3 separate regions of the Homo sapiens genome follow, and regions 1 and 2 are each linked to region 3. Evidence: promoter capture Hi-C in 16 types of primary human blood cells and fetal thymus (Javierre and others, 2016). All regions are on one chromosome and are shown on one strand. The core of a region is centred on a gene start or on the middle of the fragment in contact, and the rest is flanking DNA. Distances in the headings are between cores, read along the strand shown. Region 1 holds the start of SCGB2A1 (secretoglobin family 2A member 1). Region 2 holds the start of SCGB1D1 (secretoglobin family 1D member 1). Region 3 holds the start of SCGB1D4 (secretoglobin family 1D member 4).

What was found. The method cuts DNA at HindIII sites, captures the fragments that hold promoters and counts their contacts. A CHiCAGO score of 5 or more calls a contact.
Region 1: a contact is called between the fragment with the promoter of SCGB2A1 here and the fragment with the promoter of SCGB1D4 in region 3, in 12 of 17 cell types (endothelial precursors, M2 macrophages, M1 macrophages and 9 more). The highest score is 15.5, in endothelial precursors.
Region 2: a contact is called between the fragment with the promoter of SCGB1D1 here and the fragment with the promoter of SCGB1D4 in region 3, in 5 of 17 cell types (M1 macrophages, endothelial precursors, M0 macrophages and 2 more). The highest score is 11.6, in M1 macrophages.

Annotation. Positions count from the first base shown.
Region 1 is chr11:62,207,415-62,210,932 of GRCh38, reverse strand. SCGB2A1 (secretoglobin family 2A member 1) reads right to left here and starts at 2,260. Exons shown (of 3, transcript NM_002407.3): 1 at 2,147-2,260; 2 at 333-520. The coding sequence starts at 2,201. The HindIII fragment of the contact is 6,226 bases long and covers 1-3,187 here.
Region 2 is chr11:62,188,394-62,191,540 of GRCh38, reverse strand. It overlaps SCGB1D1 (secretoglobin family 1D member 1), which reads right to left and starts at 1,325. Exons shown (of 3, transcript NM_006552.2): 1 at 1,202-1,325. The coding sequence starts at 1,256. The HindIII fragment of the contact is 8,999 bases long and covers 87-3,147 here.
Region 3 is chr11:62,297,778-62,301,201 of GRCh38, reverse strand. SCGB1D4 (secretoglobin family 1D member 4) reads left to right here and starts at 2,127. Exons shown (of 3, transcript NM_206998.2): 1 at 2,127-2,246. The coding sequence starts at 2,192. The HindIII fragment of the contact is 1,500 bases long and covers 1,456-2,955 here.

The DNA.
Region 1 (3,518 bases), core at 1,011-3,510, 90 kb after region 3:
AAAAAAAAATGCCGATGCCTGTCCCCGTGTGTCTGTGTGTGTCTATACTTGTGTGCTTATGTGTGTCTGTGTCTGTGTGAGAAGGGACTGGTGAGGTCAGAGGTAGACGGGTGATCTCTAAGGCTTTCTTTTCTCCTTTTTGCCTTTTCCATTTATCACTCCCTAAAGATTCTCAATGTGAAGTGGCAAAGCAGCCTGGAGACAAAGTTTAATGAATTGATATATAAAGAAAGTTTGTTCACCAGTTGCTTGGCATTCTTGGTGCCAAATTTAGAGCCCGCTGGTTCTGATCAGTGATTTTCAAAGGGTACATAAGAAGAAACCCAAATTACCATCATCAGTCCAAAGTTTTTCAGAGTTCTATGTGACTGGTTGAGGAAACACTGCTTGAATTTCCCCATAGCCTCTGCAGCGGCATCACTGTCTATGAACTCTTGAAGAAGCTCTTTGTATTCAGGTATAGATATGTCGGAATTGATGGTCTTTTCAACCATGTCCTCCAGGAGTTTGCAGCCAGAATCTGGAAAAAAAAAAAAAAAAAAAAAAGACACAAGAACATGGGCCATTACTAGAGGTGTGATTCATTCTACAGATGAATTGGGAAGCTGGCTATCTTCGTACCTCCAGGGACAGACCGAGGTTCAGAAAGATTTTGGTGCAGTATGCAGAGTTCTCAATTCTGGGAGTGTAAACTCAGGCTCTGCAAATTCTCTCTGACCTTCCAAACCCAGAGAAGCCCAACCCTGTGTATTCTTGGTGAAGAGGACCCTCGAGAAATGAGGTGTTCTGACTGGGGGGACATAGCAAACACTACTTGGACTTTCTTGGTTCAAAGTCATGCAATGCTTCCCTGTTATCATGCCCAGCATCAGGTAGGGTTTCCAAGGATTTCAGATGAATGGGTCTAGGACATTGTCCATTAGTTCTGTTGACTCTACTGCAATAAAAGGGAATGTGTGGCCAGGTATGGTGGCTCACGCCTGTAATCCCAGCACTTAGGGAGGCCAAGGCAGGCGAATTGCTTGAGCTCAGGAGTTTAAGACCAGCCTGGACAACACAGGGAGACCTCATCTCTACAAAAAATTTAAAAATTAGCCAGGCATAGTGGTGTCCACCTGTAGTCCCAGCTACTCGGGAGGCTGAGGCAGGAGCATTACTTGAGCCTTCGAGGAAGAGGTTGCAGTGAGCTGAGACTGTGCCATTGCACACCAGTCCCAGTCCCAGCCTGGGTGACAGAGCAAGACCCTGTCTCAAACACACACACACACACACACACACACACACACACACACACACATGAATGTGAAATAGAGCTTGTTCATGAGGGGATCTGAGGTCACCTCCCACTGTAAGGGAGAGGAACGAGCTCAGGACGTGGCTTCATGTGAGCTGGTTGTGCTCTGGACTTTGTGATTTTCCAGTTAGTTGACTGTGAGCTTGTCACCCTTCTACACATCTGCACCTACCTTGGATGCCAATACGGTAGGGTTTGGAATCCACCTTTGTGAACTGCACAAGGCAGGCTACCTATGGAAATATTAGCGCTGATTCCAGCAGCCGGGGCTTTTTCCTCCCACTGAATCTTTAGTGCTGGAAGGAGACTCCAGGGGTTGTGAGTTCTCACCTGTCTGCCTTGAGCCTGAAGCAACTGGGAGGGTAAGGGCATCCCAGAAGGACCCAGATCAACTCTGAGAACACAGAGTGAGCCACACAGGGTGAGAGACACTGGGTCACACTCTGCAGCCTGGGCCTTCTGTCCTGGGAGGTTTCCTATTTCGTTCCATATTCAAGGAGACCCATGATTATTTCCTGATTTCTAGGTGTAGATGCCATCTCTCCCTTGCCCCACTGAAATAGTTCATTTCAATATTTAATCCTGAGACTCATCCTGGTTTCTATGGTCACCGTGACCATGGTGAGACGCTGAGTGCCATGATACACTGTGTGCAGCTCCAATGCAGGGGACAGCCCATGAGGACACTGCATGCTTGATTGTCAGGAACTCATGGGGATCCTAAGGCCTATCGCACCCAGGCCCTTCACACTGGGGCTCGTCTGTGCTGGGGATTAGAGGTTGGGAGTTCTTCTACAGGGGCCCAGGTGACAATTCCTAGCCCAGAAGCAGCCCTCTCTGCCCAGAACTCACCTGCATAGCAGTGCAGGAGGAGGGCCGCCAGCATGAGGACCATCAGCAGCTTCATGGCGAGGCGGCTGCTGTCTGTGTTCAGTCGTGCGTGGCAGGGATCAAGGAAGTTGCTGTGGAGGTGAGTACCCAGCCCTGCTCTATTTATTCCCCAGGGAGGCACCTTAGTCCCTCCCAGGAATGAGGCAATGTGTCAACCTGGCATGGGACCAGGACACAATAGTGTACACCAATGGGAACACAGCCAGCCTGTGCTCTGTTTGTAGAAACCAAGAAGGCAGTAATATTTGGATCCCTGACAATCTGGGGACTACAATAATGATACATGGCTTTTAGTAAAATGGATGTGACAGTGTTTTCCAAAATATAAAGCAAAACCCAGTGGCGTGATCTTGTGGTCTCAACAATGTTGTTATTATTGTAGTTTTCTTCTAGTCCTCCTTCCCTTCTTCCTCCTCCTCCTTCTATTCTTTTTCTTCTATTCCTCTTGGTCTCCTCCTCTTCTCGTTATTCTTCAAGGTACAAACAGTTTCATAACTTGTGTATCTGCCGGTCCTGGAATCATCAAATATTTGGGCTATGTGCAATACCTGCATCTTCCTATGGGAGGCAGACCTTCCTAATCCATAGACATTTCTTTTTCAGAAAAGCGGGTTTTTTTGTTTTTGTTTTTTGGGGTTTTGTTGCTGTTGTTGTTGTTGTTTTGAGACAGAGTCTCACTCTATTGCCCAGGCTGGAGTGCAGTGGTGCGATCTTGGCTCACTGCAGCCTCCGCCTCCCGGGTTCCAGAAATTCTCCTGCCTCAGCCTCCTGGGTAGCTGGGATTACAGGCATGCGCCAGGACACCTGGCTAATTTTTGTATTTTTAGTAGAGACAGGGTTTCACCATTTTGGCCAGGCTGGTCTCGAACTTCTGACCTCAGGAGATCCACCTCACTCAGCCTCCCAAAGTGCTGGGATTACAGGCGTGAGCCACCATGCCCAGCCCCGAAAAGTGCTTTAAGTTTTGGGGAAAACATTAATATCTAACCTCTACTGAAAGCTTCTTGTTATTCTTGTTAAGAATTACAACACTAAGTTAATTCAACTTTACAAATTTATTTTACAATATATTTATAATTTAATTTGTGCTTAGTTCTTTGTTAGCCTTTTACGGTTTTCTATCCACTGACTGAGAGGATGCTGTGAGTGAGTGGAGTAACTGACTGCTTGGGCAGGCAGTGCTAGGCAGTGGGTGGCAATGGGGTTGGGTGATGATGAGATTTAGGTGATAAGATTTGGGCAGGTGTGGGTGTGGATCCTGGAGGCCACACGTACTCATGCTGTGTCTTTGGGCAAATTACAATGCTGGTCCCTCTGGGCTTCCTTTCTGTCT
Region 2 (3,147 bases), core at 76-2,575, 110 kb after region 3:
GTGATTCAATACAGACAGAGCTAAAAGGTAAACAAATTAAAACAAAATAAAATAATGTGAATCAGTTTTAACACACATTAGAAGCTTATACAGGAAATTGTACTTGGCCCATATTCTGCAGCAGCATCTAGAATATTTGGAGAGGATGAGAGGAGGGAACTGAGGCTCATTCCTGCTCCCACTGGGAATTTTGGAAAGACCTGGAGTAATCATTTTGCTTGGTCTGGAATCTCCATTCACCTAAGTCTTTTGCAAACACCATGCATCCAGAAAGCGCCCCACCATGCTCAACATGACCCCTGACTACCCGACTTCAAACTGTGGGGAGAATTTGGAGAGGGTAGGATCGGGGTGTCACAGGGAAACAGGGAGAGGTTCAGAAAAGAAGAGGAAAGAGAAAAATCAGAGTCTGGATCGGTCCTGACAGGGGAAAGGAAAGTACCCAAATGAACTGGGGAAAAATCAGCCAGAATTAATTTTAGAAAAATAGAAGTTCTGAGGCTAACCATTGTAGTATTTCTACCACCATTACGGTAGGACCCCTAGAAGATATATTGAGTGCTGCTTATTCTAAGAATTCATTTGCAGGCTTCTTATTGAGAGAATCAGAAAGCACCATCTCTTCTTGGACTGAGAGTTCTCCAAGGATCCTTCGAGATGTAACATTTTATGAGTCTGAATTTACAATGTAAGAAGCTGTGAGCTCAATTGGCACCTAAAGGTCTGGGGACGAGAATGTCTGACAGTACAGTGATTGGCTTCACATCCACAGCTAGACCCTTGGCACAATAATCCCACTCCATTCCCATTGCCACTCCCGGAAGAAGCTCTAAGCACCAGAGATAGGAGGAGGCGCGGGGAGGGTGAGCATCTTGCCCACGGTGAAAGGGCTGAGAAGTGGCTGAGCCCAGAGTCACCCCAGACCTCACATTACATCATCTGACACAGATCCCATCCAAGAGTGAAGCTCAGGCAGAATTCCTAACGTTCGCCTGCATTGATTTTCTGCAAAACTTCCTAGGTACTGGGGATTTGATGAAATGAGGCCCGAGCTTTATGAGCAGTTCCTTCAACAAGCACAGGATAAGGTTTGGAATTTTGGTTTGTTCCAGACCCCAACCTTAACCTTAATAGGTGACCTCGTGCTCAGAGAAGGGTGTGTCCCAAGGGCTGGTGCTGGACTCATGACTGATGTACTCACCCCGGTAGCAGCAAAGGGCCAGCGTGAGCAGCAGGAGACACACCGACAGCCTCATGGTGGCTTATTCTGCTGTGAGCTCGGCTTTAACCAATGATGAGTGATTTAGACTCAGCCCCGGGAGCCTGTGGAGCCGTGGAGCCCAGGGCTATTTGTACCTAGGGAGCCTGGCTGGTCCTGCCCACATGGGCATCTGGCAGGTGATGAGGCCTGGCTTCCAGCCCTCCCTTCCTAGCCAGGGCTGCTGCCATCCATCAGTGTCACATCCCCACACCTCCCTGCATCCTGAGTGGGGCGGAGCACGGGAGGGCAGCCCTGCAGAAACTCTGCTCTGTGCTCCAGGTGAGTGTCCAGGTGCCTCTGGCAATGTTCCCTGGAACCTCAGTTTGCTTTTGGGCTTTTGAGGATTATCTCTCTGTTCTTTATGTCAGTGCAAGGGCAAATGTGAGTTCTCATTTCAGGAGGACAGAAACCGGGGGTGCAGGAAGCTAGGGGCTGTGGTTTGGTTATAGGAGAGCAGGCACAGAAGAGACCCCACTTTGACCTCCACTGCATGTCTGACAATCAGCCACACGTGTTTCAGCTGCACATAGATCAAGTCTGAACCAGACCTATCCTCCCACTCAGCCCCTTCCATCCCCACCATCTTCACCACATAGGTACCTAAAACATAGCTGCATACACCCCACCTTTGGAGGATTTCCTTGGGGAAAACAACCACTCCCCCTGTCCTCTACTCTGTCTCACTCCAAGATCTGTGTCTTTATTTATGGGTGGAGTTGTCAACATAGCACAGGTTCAAATTTTCTGTCTACTAAAAGCAAGCCTCCAGTGACCTCTAGCCACCCATATCTCCTCATAGGGCTGATGGGATGATTAAATTGCCCAACTTTTTTTACCCAAGGAGCTGCTGGGGTGTCTGGAGGCAAACAGGCATCAGAAATACTGGTCTTCGCTTCTAGGCAGGGACGATAATGGAAAGGAAGAGATGGATGAACAGGGTGGGTGGTCACTTCCCTCTAACCTCTGGGCTCAAGTTTTCCACTTCTAACCCAGCTCTGCTGCCTGGGTCATCTCATTGTTGATGGAAAGCGAAGGCCATCCCCAGCAAAAGCAATAGACACCCTTCTGCCCTTCCACTGCAGTGCCATCATTTGGTGAGTAGGAAATCACCAGAAATTTGGCTCTTAAGTGAACACACATTTGAGAACAGTCACAGCCCAGGCCAGAGCTTTCCATTCTCTGCTCTGCAATCAAATCACTTGGGGCTCTTAAACTATACTGACTCCCCGCAGGCTGCTTCCCTTTCTGGGGATTTTGATTCAGTAGTTCTAGGGCGAGGTCCTCTTCTGTTTAAACTGCTCTGGTGGGTCTGATGGGCAGCAGTACTGAGAACCACCCAGAAAGACCTTTATGAAGGAAGCGGACCTTATGGTCTGTGTCATCAGAGACACCTTGGCAGGTCTGGCTGAGTCCCAGCTGAGGGCGACAATGCCTCTCACTTCCATCACCCAAAATGGTGGGGAAGCCCCTGATGCCACCTCTGCCTCCAACCCTAAGGAGTGGAAGGTCCAGTGGCAAAGCCCATGGCTAGGAGGGTTCAGATCCATGTCTATGGGCTATTGAACCCTCTGAAAATTAGTTTATGTAAACACAGTTTTCTCGTTTGTAAAAGTAGGTTAAAAATGGTGCCTACATCATTGGGTTGATAGATGTTCAAATGAGTGTGTGTGTGTGTGTGTGTGTGTAAAATTTACCAGGTCTGGCCAGGCGCAGTGGCTCACACTTATAATCCCAGCACTTTGGGAGGCCGAGGCGGGTGGATCACCTGAGGTCAGGAGGTTGAGACCAGTCTGGCCAACATGGTGAAACCCCGTCTCTACTAAAAATACAAAAAATTAGCTGGGTGTGGTGGCATGTGCCTATAGTCCCAGCTACTCAGGAGACTG
Region 3 (3,424 bases), core at 878-3,377:
GGTCAGGCAACGATGTCCATGGATGGAAAGAATAAACTAAAATCTTGAGTCAATTGTGTAAAAAGGAGGGAGCCATAAAAAGCATCAATGATGAAAACAAAAAAACCCTGCATAGGTGTTAATCGTGGTAGGACTAATAAAAGTATACGCAAACAATCCTCTGTCAGAGATACACATGCTCCCCAATGGACTGTACAGATGACAAGGTGAATGTCAAGCCTGAGTGAGGATAAACTCTCATCCACAAAAAGGGTGGATGCTTCACAGACCTGTCTACTGCAAAAGAGGCCTCAGTCCTGAAGCCCATATTCATGGGTTTGCAGCCTCCAAGACCATGAGCTGGGTTTCCTTTTCCATTTATGTCAAAGAGAAATGGTGTATCTAGGTGTCCGTGTAGTTCTGCAAGTAGGTGATTTAGTGGATTTTGGCTGTGCTCTAAACTAGGAACTACTGGCAAACCATGACATATATGACAAATGGGACAAGATAATGGCAGTTTACATTGAGAACTACTATGTACCAGAACTTGGTATATTTTAAACACACACACACCCATGAACACACTCATTTGATCATCTATCAACCCAATGATGTAGGCACCATTAGTAGCCTACTTTGACAAATGAGAAAACTGGGGTTACATAAACTGAATAATTTTCCTAAGGTCCAGGAGCCCATAAATGAGGATCTGAACCCTCATAGCTGTAAACCTCACCACCAACCCTCCCCCTCCTTGGTGGCAGCAGGGCTGATTCAGGGACTCCGTCGTCATCCTGTGTGATGAAAGTGAGATCCACTGTTGCCCTCAGCTTGGACTCAACTAAATCTGTCAATGTGTCTTTGATGACAAAACCCGTAAGGTCCCCTTCCTTCTTAAAGGTTTTCCTGGCTGGATCTCAGCCCTGCTGTCTGTGAGAAACACCAGAGCAGTTTAAACAGTACAGAAAGGAGGGATTCACCCCAATGCTACTGAATCAAAATCGCCAGAGAGAGAAGCCTGTGGGGTCAGTATGTTTTAAAAGCTCCAAGTGATTTGACTACATAGCTGAGAATGGAAAGCTATGGCCTGGGCTGTGACTCCTCTCAAATGTAAGTTTATTTAAGAGAAAAATTTCTGGTGATTAAACTCACACCACATGAAGGCACGGCAATGGGAGGGAAGGCGGGTGTGTATTGCTTTGTCTGGGGGCTTCCTTCACTTTCCCTTAAAAATGGGATTGGCCCAGGCAGCACAGATAGGTTTGAAGTGGAAAACTTGAGCCTAGGGGTTAGGGGGAAGTGACCACCCACCCTGTTCCTCTGTCTCTTCCCTTCTATTATCTTCCCAGCCTAGAGCCCCACTGATGTATGATTGGCTCTGAACACTCCAAAAGCTCTTGAGAAAAAGAGTTAGGTTATTTAATCTTCAGATCAGCCCTAAGATAAGACGTGGGTGGCTACACATCACAGAAAGCTTGCTTTTTATAGATAGAAAATGTGAATCTTGGCCATATATATAACTGCACGTATAAACAAGATTCAGGTTTGGGAGTGAGGCAGGCTAGAGAACAGGTGCAGCAGATGTTTTTCCTCAGCATATCTTCTACAGGTGGGATGTATTCAACTATGTTTTCAGTACCTATGCAGTGAACATGGTGGTGATGGAAGGGGCTGAGGGGAAGGATTAGACTTTCCCAATGTGCAACTGAAACAAGCCTGCTTGTTGTCAGACATGCAGGGGGATCAAAGCAGGGTCTCCTTATGTCCCTGCTCTCCCATAAAGAGAACACAGCCTTCCAGCTTCCTGTGCCTTGTGAAGCCATAATTCACCTGTGCCCCTGCACTGCTACAAAGATAAAAAGAACTAATCAGCAAAAGCTCATAAGGAAATTGAGGATCCCAGGAACATTTCCAGATGTACCTGAACACTCACCTGGAGCACAGAGCAGAGTTCTCACAAGGCTGCTGTCTTGTGCTCCGCCCCACTCAGATGCAGAGATTCCTAAGGAGGTGACATTGATGGACGGCAGCAGCCCTGGCTTGGAAGGGCGGGCTGGGAGCCAGGCCTCATGACCTACCAGGTGCCCCGGTAGGTAGGACCAGCCAGGCTCCCTAGGTACAAATAGCCCTGGCCTCCATGACTACACAGGCTCCTGGAGTCGAATCCAAATCACTCATTGTGAAAGCTGAGCTCACAGCCGAATAAGCCACCATGAGGCTGTCAGTGTGTCTCCTGATGGTCTCGCTGGCCCTTTGCTGCTACCAGGGTGAGTACATCAGTCATGAGTCCAGCACCAGCCCCTGGGATGCACCCTCTTCTGAGCACAAGATCACCTATTTGTGCTTTGGGTTGGGGTCTGCACAAAACCAAACAAAATTCCAAACCCTTTTCTGTGCTTGTTGAATAAGATTCATAAAGGTTAGAGCTATTTCTTCTTTCTTCTTCCTTTTTTTTTTTTTTTTTTTGAGAAGTTTTGCTCTTGTTGCCCAGGCTGGAGTGCAGTGGCATGATCTTGGCTCACTGCAACCTCTGCCTCCGGGGTTCAAGTGATTCTCCTGCCTCAGCCTTCCTGAGCAGCTGGGATTACAGGCATGGGCCACCACAGCTGGCTAATTTTGTATTTTTAGTAGAGATGGGGTTTCTCCATGTTGGTCAGGCTGGTCTCGAACTCCCGACCTCAGATGATCTGCCCGCCTCGGCCTCCTAAAGTGCTGGGATAACAGGCATGAGCTACTGCGCCTGGCTGCTTAGAGCTATTTCTTCTAATCCCCAGTATCTAAGAAGTTTTATAGAAAAATCAGTTCAGGCAAATGTTAGGAATTCTTCTGCCTGAGCTTCACTTCTGAATGGGATCTGTGTCAGATGATGTAATGTGAGGTCTGGGGTGAACCTGGGCTTCGACACTTCCCACCCCTTGATCTTGGGCACAATGCTCACCCTCCTTGAGCCTCCTCTTATCACTGGTGGTTAAAGCTTCTGCCAGGAGTGGCTATGAGAATGAAGTAAGGTTATGGTTGTCAAGAGTCAAGCTGTGGGCCAGGCATGGTGTCTCATTCCTGTAATCTTAGCACTTTGGGAGGCCACAGTGGGCAGATCACTTGAGCTCAGGAGTTCAGCACCAGCCTGGGCAACATGGCGAAACCCCATCTCTACAAAAAAAAAAAACAAAACAAAACACACACACACACACACACACACACACACACACACAAAAGCGGGCATGGTGGCAGGCACTGGTAGTCTCAGCTACTTTGGGGGCTGAGGGAGGATCGCTTGAGCCCAAGACATTCAGGCTGCAGTGAGCCGAGATTGTGCCACTGCATTCCAGTCTGGGTGAACCTATCTCAAAAAAAAGAAAAAGAAGTCTAGCTGAGGATATGAAGCTCTTCCCTTTGTTGTGTGACCCGGAGAAAGTCACACCTGGAGTTTCTGGTATTGTCATCA